Regions from separate parts of the Homo sapiens genome. Here all the other regions are linked to region 2. Evidence: promoter capture Hi-C in 16 types of primary human blood cells and fetal thymus (Javierre and others, 2016). All regions are on one chromosome and are shown on one strand. Each heading gives the region's core, a stretch centred on a gene start or on the middle of the fragment in contact. The rest is flanking DNA. Distances are from core to core; before and after follow the strand shown.

Region 1 (3,434 bases), core at 737-3,236, 270 kb after region 2:
GGGCCCCGCCAGCCACCCAAGATGTCCACGTCCTGCCCCACCTCCAGGCCACGCTCTCCCTCGAGGTGGCGGGGGGCACGGCCCAGGCCCCGAGCTTGGGGCCAGCAGCGCCCAACTCTCAGACGTTCCTCCTGGTGCAAACTGCCCAGGGCCTCCAGCTGATCCCCAGCAGCGTGCAGCCCCCTACACCTCCGCCCCCTCCCGCACCTCCCAAGCTCATCCTGCTGCCCTCCTCCAGTGCTGGGGCTGGGGGCGGCCGTGCAAGGCAGGGCCCGCGGGCAGTGGGGAAAGCGGGCCAGGGGGCGGGAGTGGTCTGGCTGCCAGGCCCTGGGGGTCTAGGGGTGCAGGGAGCGGCCAGCGCTGGGGCCAGCGGGACAGGGCAGAGCCTCATCGTTCTGCAGAATGTGGGGGGTGGGGAGGCAGGGCCACAGGAAATGAGTGGGGTGCAGCTCCAGCCCCTCCGACCAGCCCCAGAAGTAACCACGGTCCAGCTCCAGCCAGCGCAGGAGGTGACCACAGTCCAGCTCCAGCCAGCACAGGAAGTAACCACGGTCCAGCTCCAGCCAGCACAGGAGGTGACCACGGTCCAGCTCCAGCCCGTGGCCGGCCAGCTCTCCAATTCCAGTGGGGGAGCTGTGGCTACTGAGGCACCCAACCTGCTGGTTGTTCAGAGCGGGGCAGCTGAGGAGTTGCTCACTGGCCCGGGCCCCGGGGAGGCGGGGGATGGCGAGGCCAGCACTGGTGTGGTCCAGGATGTCCTCTTTGAGACACTCCAGACGGACGAGGGCTTGCAGAGCGTGCTGGTGCTGAGCGGGGCCGATGGCGAACAGACTCGACTCTGCGTACAGGAGGTAGAAACACTTCCTCCTGGGCTGACGGAGCCGCCTGCCACCGGCCCACCCGGACAGAAACTCCTCATCATCCGCAGCGCCCCAGCCACTGAGCTGCTGGACAGCAGCAACACTGGAGGAGGCACCGCCACGCTGCAGCTCCTGGCCCCACCGCCGTCAGGCCCAGCCTCGGGCCCCGCGGGGCTCCCCGGGGCTCCAGCCTCCCAGATGGTGCAAGTGGTCCCCGCAGGAGCTGGGCCTGGTGTTATGACCCCTCAGGGCCTGCCCTCCATCCAGATTGTCCAGACTCTACCCGCAGTCCAGCTGGTGCACACGTTTTGAGGAGAGGCAGTGATTCCCCTCCCGCCCCGCACAGAGACCCCGACTCACTGCCAGCCGGGGCGGGGCAGGGTGCCGCAGGCTGGGCTTGCTAATAAAGACCCGAGTCTCCCCGCCTGTGTTTTGTTTTCCTGGGGGGAGGGAAGGGGGCAAAGTCATGGTCCTAGCCCCCGCCTGGGAGCGTGGAGTCTTAAGTCTTGCGTCCTGGGTCGCAGATGGCTTGTTCTGCATCCTGGGGCCAGCCACTACGTAGGGCTCAGTTCCCCTGTCCTGAAACCAAAAAAGGCCGCAGGGGTCATTATAGTGGGGAGGTGGTGACATCAGACTCCAGGGAGTGCTACTTGTTCACTGTAGGTCGCCCCGCTGCCCCCCTCGTGTGAGAAGTAGGGGGATCCTTATGCGGAAGGGTTCTGCGACCCCGGGCGCCCCGTGGGTGGAGTGGGGTCCCTGGGGATGGGGGAGTCGGGCGCCAGGATGCTGAGCGTGGCCGGCTCCTCCCGCGAAGGCCCCGGCACGGATGAGAATCCACGCGCTGGCGTCGCCGCCCGGCGCTCAGGTTGCTCAGCAACGAGGGAACGTGGGGCGGGAGCTCGCGCTGGTCCCCAGCCCGCCGCCCGTCTCCTGCCGGCTTCCGCTCCCGTTCTTCCCCAGGTCCCCTTTCCCCGTTGCTCCTTCTCTAGGGATAGGAGAGGTCGCTTCCCGGCCCTCCGCAGGGTCACAGCTCGGTTCCTCCCAGCCCGCCCTCCGGGGAGCTTAGCAACGGTTGCTACGGCCCGGAGCGGGCGCCGCCCCGCCCCACCGCGCGCGGTCTGACGTCACTTCCGCCCGCGACCCCCTTCCAGACCCGCTCCCGAAACCTTGTCGAAGGACCAAAGGCGACCGGTGCAGGTGCTTGCTGGTCCTTGTTCTTGTGGCGCGGGACGGGGACGACTGTGGGGGAGGGGGCGCTGGGGACCGGGGTGGAGCGAGCGTGGTCCGTTCTCTGGCATGTGGGGAGGGTGTTCGTGGACCCCAGTGCCTGGGAGGGAGCCCCGTGCTGCAGTGTTGGCGTCCGCAGCGCGTTTGGGAGTGTAGATCGCTGAATAATACGGGGGAGGGGGGATCCCGGGAGACTTTAGCAAGGTCGCTGAGTATTGTGGGGGGCGCCTGTCCTGCCGAGATCCTCGCTTGGGGGCCCCGAGGGTTCTCAGTGTCCTGATCTGGGAAGTGCCGTTGCTGCTCCCTACCCCTCGGGGGAGCTTTGGGGACAGAGGTGCCCCCCTGACGCTGACCTACTTATGTTCTCACCAGGTGCACGACGCCAGCTCCCTTCTGGGGGGCCGGGGCCTGGGGGTTGCCATGGCCCCCAGCCACCTGTCAGTGCGGGAGATGAGGGAAGATGAGAAGCCCCTGGTGCTGGAGATGCTGAAGGTGAGAGGCAGGGGCCCCAGGGGGCCTGGGAGTGGCTGCAGTGGGGGAATTGCAAGTGGATTCAGCCACCCCCTCCCACCCACCTGAGCCAGCCTGGACCCCTGGAGCGGGATCTTTTCCTCCTGAGCCTCAGCCGCCCTGCTGCTGAAAACCACAGCAGGTGTGGCAGGTGGGGGCTCACCCCCCCAGCCCTACTGGGACCCCAGCACCAACGCCCTCCCTGGTCTCCCATCTCCAGTCGGCTGTGCACGCCAGCACAACAGCCAGCTCTGTGCCTCGGACCCCAACTCTTCAAAGCACAGCCCAGCACCCCAACCTAGCCCAGCAGCCTCCCTCCAGCCTCCACTCCAGCCTGAGGCAACCTCCCTGTCCTTACTTCCCTGGGGCCTCACTGCGGCATTGCTACTGAATTGAGTGCCCCCACAGCTCCTAATTCACTCATCCATCCATCATTCGCTCTCGTTCATTCATTCACTCCATACCCAGTGTGCCACACTGAACATCGGACTGTGCTGCCTTCCCTTCCCATTTGGGAGCTCTCACCCCGCCCCGGGCAGGGTCTACCTCCTCTCTTTGTCCAGGAGGCCCTAGCGTTTCGGATGGCTGAGCCACCCCTCCTGCCCACAGGCCGGCGTGAAGGACACGGAAAACCGCGTGGCCCTCCATGCCTTGACACGGCCGCCGGCCCTGCTCCTCCTGGCGGCGGCCAGCAGCGGCCTGCGCTTTGTCCTGGCTTCCTTCGCCCTGGCCCTCCTCCTGCCGGTGTTCCTGGCTGTGGCCGCCGTGAAGCTGGGCCTGCGGGCCCGATGGGGCTCGCTGCCTCCGCCGGGTGGCCTGGGGGGCCCCTGGGTGGCC
Region 2 (3,494 bases), core at 140-2,639:
CCCCTAAAGCCTCACACCTGTTACCAGTCCTGAGCCAGTTCTCAGTCTTGGAACCCCTTCCATGTAGCGGATGCTTTTCCCTCAGGGAGGACTCACCGATACTAGTCAAAGTACATACTGTAAACCTTCCTCCCAGTTTCTCCTAAAGGCCAATATCCATGGTCGCTGGGGATTAGAGAAAGAGAAAAGGCTACTGGACTCTGACTCTGAATCAATCCTAATTTGGAGGCACACACAGGTCACCGTGAATCATGGTCTGACTGGTGTGCTTGGGGCTGTCAGGTAACGAACGGAGGGTTCACCTAAAGACCATCACACAGTGGGTCAACGGGACTCTAAAGACCCTGTGTGGCTCCTTCCTCAGGCCTTGAGAGTGAAGTTGAAATCGACATTCTCATAAAATGGCAGACACAATGCTTTGGCTTCCCTGATCTGTAGTGTGAAAGCTTTGATGGTGGGAAGAAGAAATGGAAGCCCCTAGAAATTCCCCCATCTATATTGGGCCAGTCTTTCATTGCTATAAAGAAATACCTGAGACTGGGTAATTTATAAAGAAAAGAGTTTTAATTGGCTCGCGGCTCTGCAGGTTGTACAGGAAGCGTGGTGCTGGCATCTGCTCAGCTTCTGGGAAGGCCTCAGGGAGCTTTTCCACTCATGGCGGAAGGTGAAGAGGGAGCAGGCACATAACATGTCGAAAGCAGGAGCAAGAGAGAGAGGACGGGAGGTGCCACACACTTCTATTTTTTTATTTTATTATTATTAAATTTTTGAGATGGAGTTTCCCTCTGTCACCCAGGCTGGAGTGCAGTGACACCATTTTGGCTCACTGCAACCTTCACCTCCTGGGTTCAACTCCCAGCTAGTTTTTGTATTTTTAGTAGAGATAGGGTTTTGCCATGTTGTCCGGGCTGGTCTCAAACTCCTGACCTCAGGCGATCCAATGCACCTCGGCCTCCCAAAGTGCTGAGATTACAGGTGTGAGCCACCGCGCCCGGCCTTGCCACGTACTGTAAAATACCCAGATCTCTTGTGAGCTCACTCATCACCATGGGGATGGTACTAAACCATTCATGAGGGGTCCATCCCCAAGATCCTAACACCTCCCACCAAGTCCGGCCTCCAACACTGGGGATTCCATTTCAACATGAGATTTGGTGGGGACACAGATCCAAACCATAGTATCATCCTTCCCAAACAGTCAACCCAGGGAATCACAGAGATCAGCGCCAGCATCAAGCCTTGGAAAACACAGGGGTGGGATATGGGAGGGTGATTCCTAAACATTATCCTTTGATTCACATGATTAATCTATGCAGGAGCTTATGGATCTTGGAAGACAGAAGTAAGAAATGGTGATACTGGCCGGGCTCAGTGGCTCACGGCTGTGATCCCAGCACTTTGGGAGGCCAAGGAGGGCGGATCACGAGGTCAGGAGATCAAGACCACGGTGAAACCCCGTCTCTACTAAAAATACAAAAAATTAGCCGGGCGTGGTGGTGGGCACCTGTAGTCCCAGGTACTTGGGAGGCTGAGGCAGGAGAATGGCGTGAACCCGGGAGGCAGAGCTTGCAGTGAGCAGAGATGGCGCCATTGCACTCCAGCCTCGGAGACAGAGCGAGACTCCGTCTCAAAAAAAAAAAAAAAAAAATGGTGATACCCTCGGAAGTGGCTGGTCTTCTCAGGGTAAGGTCTCCTTCAGCAAATCAGCACAGCCCCTGGCACCTGATATTCAGCTAATGAACTGGAAAAGGCGTTTTGCCTATAGAAGTTAGCCTGAATGAAGAGTGTTCTTTACTCCAACAGTGACAGAAGGTCAGTGTGATTCCCTTTAGACTGTCTGGGACCTCGGTCATCTTATCAACCCATAAGACATCACGCTGTTCCCCCTCACTCCTGGATAGCAATTTATCCTCACTGGAATGGACACTTACAGGTGTTTATTAATTTCTCAGTGATTTGTTGAATGAATGAAGGAATGAATGAATGAATGATGTCTTTACCTTGAGATTGGAGTTCTTTCAGATTTGCTCTCTGCCCACCTCACCAGCCTCTTCTCCTATCTTTACTCCAGCTACACAGATGTCCGTGCATGTTTTTCTTAGCACTCCAGGTGGATTCAAACCTCAGGGCCTTTGCACACACTGTTCCCTCTGCCTGGTAAAATATTTCTCCACCAGCCAGGGCCTACTTCTCTTTCTACTTCTGGTTGACCCCAGATACAGTTGGCCACTCCCTCCTATGTTTGGAGCCAAACTAAACAAATCTCTTATTATAATACTCATCACATTGTCTGTGGCTTTGCCTATTTTTCCTTTCTTTTATCAGAGTGGAAGAAGCTTCTTTGGGTAGAGACAAGTCTATTCATCTTGGGGGACATCAGGCCAACTCCACACCGAAGGCTGATGAAACTTCAGGCAATATCCCTTCATCTGAATCTGATGACGTGTGTCACGTTTTCCAGGTCCACACTCAGGGATCTGGTCTGCGTTTTCATGTAAGCTTTCTCCACTCTCACTTTCCCTGGACTCTCATCCAGGATTAGATTTTTTTTTTTCTTTTAAATGGAATCTCATTCTGTCACCCAGGCTGGAGTGCAGTGGCACCGTCTCGGCTCACTGCAACCTCTGCCTCCTGGGTTCAAGCGATTCTCCTGCCTTGGCCACCACGCCTGGCTAATTTTTGTATTTTTAGTAGAGACGAGGTTTTGCCATGTTGACTACGCTGTTCTCGAACTCCTGACTTCATGTGATCCACCCGCGTCAGCCTCCCAAACTGCTGGGATTACAAGCATGAGCCACCACGCCTGCCGCGATTAGATCATTGATCTCATTGCAGGTGAACCAGTCCAGACCCCCATCCAGGTTTTCCAGCTTGCTCGCTCCTCACGCTGTGGCTGTGTCCTGTGTTGCCGTGTTTCCGCTGAATCCAGCCCTTGTTTTCGCTCTTCCTGGCCTTGCGGGCAGCCAGGATTGAAAGATCCAGGAAGTGACAGGGGCCTGACTCATCAACTTGTAAGAGAGCTGGGGTTCTCCTAGATCCATGCTCGCACTGAGGTGAGAAATGAGAAGCCAGGGCCGGGAGCCTCCTGGGGGTTGGCTGCCAACGCCAGGCAGGCGGGGAATGGTGATTTTCGCTTGTATCGTGGAGGATGCCACGCACAGACGTGAATAGAAAGAGCCTGGACCGTGTCCTGAGGTCAGCGACTGAGGTCCTGGGTGGGGCCAGCCAGGACCTGCCCGGGGGCTACTGCCCTCTGAATCAATACCTCCAGGGACCCTACGTTGACACCCATGGCCTCCCACTCTCCACCCCTCAGTCCTGCGTGCGGCACGTAGTGCTCACTGGGCGTCTGTGTAGGGGGTTGAAGGCTGAGGCTGGAACAAGGGCGTGGCGGTCGCAGGCTCCAGGGCACGACGGTCCTTCCTCTTCCCCTTCTCAGCCACATCTGGGGCTCCGTCCCTGCAGCCAAGGCTCCCTGGCGCTGTCCTTGGTGC
Region 3 (3,400 bases), core at 715-3,214, 320 kb after region 2:
CTGGGTCCACTGCCCGCCCAACCCCCCCAGCACAGGGCTGGCCTCAGAAGGCGTGCCCTGAACTGACTGACCTCAGGTTGCCTCCCTATTTTCCGTTTCATGGAAGGACACGGTGCTTGGCAGAAAGGCCCAGGGTAGTGGGGAGCTGTCCTGCGCACCCACTGTGTGCCGGCCTTGCTAAGTGCTTAGCAGACAGCATCACTCTGCATCATCCCACGGTGACCACTACAGCCGCCACAGGAGGCTCCTGAGCTGGGAGCTCTGTCTTACCCAGCATTATACAACCCCAGCAACTAGAGCAGTCCACATTCACTCAGAGGATCCACCATTCTTCCAAGTAGAAATCATCACCCACATTTTCCAAAGGAGGAAGCTGAGACTCAGAGAGGGCAAGGGAGTTCCTCAAAACACAGTTTTTGGCAGGGCACCGTGGCTCATGCCTGTAATCCCAGCAATTGGGAGGCTGAGGCAGGCGGATCACTGGAGGCCAGGAGTACGAGACCACCCTGGCCAACAGAGTGAAACCTCATCTCTACTAAGAAAGAAAAATACACACACACACAAATGTAGCTGGGTGTGGTAGTGCATGCCTATAGTCCTAGCTACATGGGAGGCTGAGGCAGGAGGAACACTTGAACCTGGGAGGTGGAAGTTGCAGTGAGATTGTGCCACTGCACTCCAGCCTGGGCGGCAGAGCCAGACTGTCTCAAAAACAACCAACCAACCAAAAGAACAAAAAACAAAAAACACACAGCTTTGGAGGGCAGAGGTAAGACTTGATTCAGGCCTGCCAGCCTCCCCAGCCTGGGCTACCCCAGGCCCGTGCCCCGCCCCCAGCTGAACCCTGCCACCTCTGGCCCCACAGCCTCGTACCTTTCTGACGATGGGTGACCAGAAGGACGCGGCCATAGCAACCCTGGCCCAGGGGACGCACTTCCTCGTAGAGCTCGTCCACCTCGGCTCGGACCAGGGTCTGAGCACTCAGCGTCATCATGTCCTCCAGCGCGCGGGCAGCCTCCTGGCCCTGCTGGAGCTCCTCTAATGTCAGGCCGCCCAGACCCTCCTCCTCGCTGTCCTCCGAAGCCCCTGCCTCCGCCGGCCCTTCCTCAGACTGTTTGCCGGGCATCTCTGCGAGAACAGAGAGGGGTGCCCAGGCTCAGGTCCCAGGCCCAAGGGAGGAGGGGACTGGGGGTCTGGACTCCTGGGTCTGAGGGAGGAGGGGCTGGGGGCTCATCGCGCTTCTCATTGTGACTCAGTCTCCCTCTTGGTGAGAGGTGGGGAGACAAGTCTGGTGTGAGTTCAAGCCCCAGGTCACAGATGTCCCTGCCCGCGTGCCGCCGCCGCCACCCGCCCACCCTGAGGTTGAAAGATGAACCAGATAACTGAGACTCCCCCATCTTGTTTCCAAAGCAAACAGACTTGGGCCCTGGGGGTGGATGAGTAGACTCTGTCTCCTGAGAACAAACAGGTGCTCTTGGGCTCAGGGCTGGGAGGGCGGGCTGTGCAGAGGGCCTGGGACGCCTGGGTCCTGCATGGGACCGAGCACTTGGGATCAGTCCCCAAGCTCCTGACAGGCCTGGGGTCCCACTTTCACAGCCCACCCACCTCCCTCCGACCCAGCCCCCCAGCCCCTCCTCCGCCAGGCCCAGGGGTCCAGGCCCCCAGCCCACCTCTCTCCCGGAACCTCATACAATTCACACAACTGGGGACCCCCTGATTCTGTTTCCCTCACCCTCCACCGCTCTACAGCCTCCAGGTGCAGCCCAGGCTCCCCTGAGGGACCGAGGACTCGGGCCACCTGGTACAGTCACCCTCAGGTGCTGCCCACCTCAGGCCAGGGCACCTTGCCCACCTCCCAACCTGGGCTCAGACCTCCAGACCTCACCTCCTCCAAGGCCCTCCTGACCCTCCGGCCGCCGGCTGTGGTCAGTGCCCGGCACTTAGGGCTCATGCCAGCAGAGGCCTGCCTAGGAGCAAGACCCCGCCCCGACTTTGGGGGTCGTAAGGCCCCGCCCCTGGGCCCGCCCCTTCTGCCCCCACTGGGAGCAGAGCGACATCGTGTGATGACTCCTGGAACTGGCTGTGGTCAGGTGAATACCCTGACCCAAGAGTTGAGCCCTCCTCCTTCAGACCCAGGAGTCCAGGCCCCAGCCCCTCCTCCTCCCTCAGACTCAGGAGTCCAGGCCCCCAGCGCCTCCTCCCTCAGACCCAGGAATCCAGTCTCCCAGTGCCTCCTCCCTCAGACCCAGGAGTCCAGGCCCCAGCCCCTCCTCCCTCAGACCCAGGAGTCCAGGCCCCCAGCTCTTCTTCCCTCAGACCCAGGAATCCAGGCCCCCAGCTTTCCCTCCCTCAGACCCAGGAATCCAGTCCCCCAGTGCCTCCTCCCTCAGACCCAGGAGTCTAGACCCCAGCCCCTCCTCCCTCAGACCCAGGAGTCTAGGTCTCCAGCCCCTCCTCCCTCAGACCCAGGAATTCAGGTCTCCAGCCCCTCCTCCCTCAGACCTAGGAGTCCAGACCCCCAGCCCCTCCTCCCTCAGACCCAGGAGTCCAGGCCCCAGCCCCTCCTCCCTCAGACCCAGGAGTCCAGGCCCCAGTCCCTCCTCCCTCAGACCCAGGAGTCCAGGCCTCAGCCTCCCCCACCCATCTGAAGTTTTCCGGCAGAACTGAGGCCTCCCCACCCCCTCAAGGCCTCTCTTCCCAGTTGCTCCAGCACCTGCTTCCCGCCCCTCTGAGTCTGAGGTCATCCCACACTGCATCGTTCTGGAATCTCATTGTCTCATTCTTTCCCCAAACTAGACCCCAGCATCTGATCCCCTGGACACCCCTCTCCAAGCACTTGTGTCTGACCTGTCAATGGGGCATTGATGGGGCAGCTGGGTGGGGTCAAGGCAGGGGTGGGTTCCAGAAATGATTTCATTTTCTACACGGGACCCGGACTCCTGGGCCTGATGGAGGAGGGGGTTGAGGACCTGGACTCCTAGGTCTGAGGGAGGAGGGGGTTGAGGACCCGGACTCCTGGGCCTGAGGGTGGAGGGGGTTGAGGACCTGGACTCCTGGGCCTGAGGGAGGAGGGGGTTGAGGACCTGGACTCCTGGGTCTGAGGGAGGAGGGCCTGAGGGCTCCTGATTCCAAAGAGAGGAATAACAATAAAAATAGTTTGAAAGCGCATAACAGGAATACAGGCCAGTGAGTGCCTCCCTGCTGTAAGCACAGGGAGATTAAGCCCCACTAGGAAGTCCCCAAGCCTTGGGCCACAGTGGGACTTCAGACCCCTGTTTTTTTCTGGGACGGTTGCACCCACCCTTCAGGGTTTTTTATTTCTTTTTTTTTTTTTTTTTTTTGCTTTTTGAGACGGAATCTCGCTCTGTCACCCAGACTGGAGTGCAGTGACGTGATCTCG

The links. The method cuts DNA at HindIII sites, captures the fragments that hold promoters and counts their contacts. A CHiCAGO score of 5 or more calls a contact.
Region 1: the fragment with the promoter of NAT14 here is called in contact with a fragment that was not itself captured in region 2 in 14 of 17 cell types (endothelial precursors, M2 macrophages, M1 macrophages and 11 more); the score reaches 10.7 in endothelial precursors.
Region 3: a contact is called between the fragment with the promoter of SBK2 here and a fragment that was not itself captured in region 2, in 2 of 17 cell types (neutrophils and monocytes). The highest score is 6.4, in neutrophils.

What each region holds. Positions count from the first base shown.
Region 1 is chr19:55,483,202-55,486,635 of GRCh38, forward strand. It overlaps NAT14 (N-acetyltransferase 14 (putative)), which reads left to right and starts at 1,987. Exons shown (of 3, transcript NM_020378.4): 1 at 1,987-2,057; 2 at 2,460-2,579; 3 at 3,207-3,434. The coding sequence starts at 2,508. ZNF628 (zinc finger protein 628) reads left to right here. Exons shown (of 3, transcript NM_033113.3): 3 at 1-1,286. The coding sequence ends at 1,172. RefSeq lists a silencer at 1,777-2,196 and an enhancer at 2,297-2,626. The HindIII fragment of the contact is 21,455 bases long and covers 1-3,434 here.
Region 2 is chr19:55,213,657-55,217,150 of GRCh38, forward strand. It overlaps LOC124904771 (a long non-coding RNA gene), which reads left to right and starts at 1,933. Exons shown (of 2, transcript XR_007067346.1): 1 at 1,933-3,053; 2 at 3,440-3,494. The HindIII fragment of the contact is 1,890 bases long and covers 445-2,334 here.
Region 3 is chr19:55,535,169-55,538,568 of GRCh38, forward strand. SBK2 (SH3 domain binding kinase family member 2) reads right to left here and starts at 1,965. Exons shown (of 4, transcript NM_001370096.2): 1 at 1,886-1,965; 2 at 874-1,128. The coding sequence starts at 1,126. RefSeq lists a silencer at 2,574-2,868. The HindIII fragment of the contact is 39,425 bases long and covers 1-3,400 here.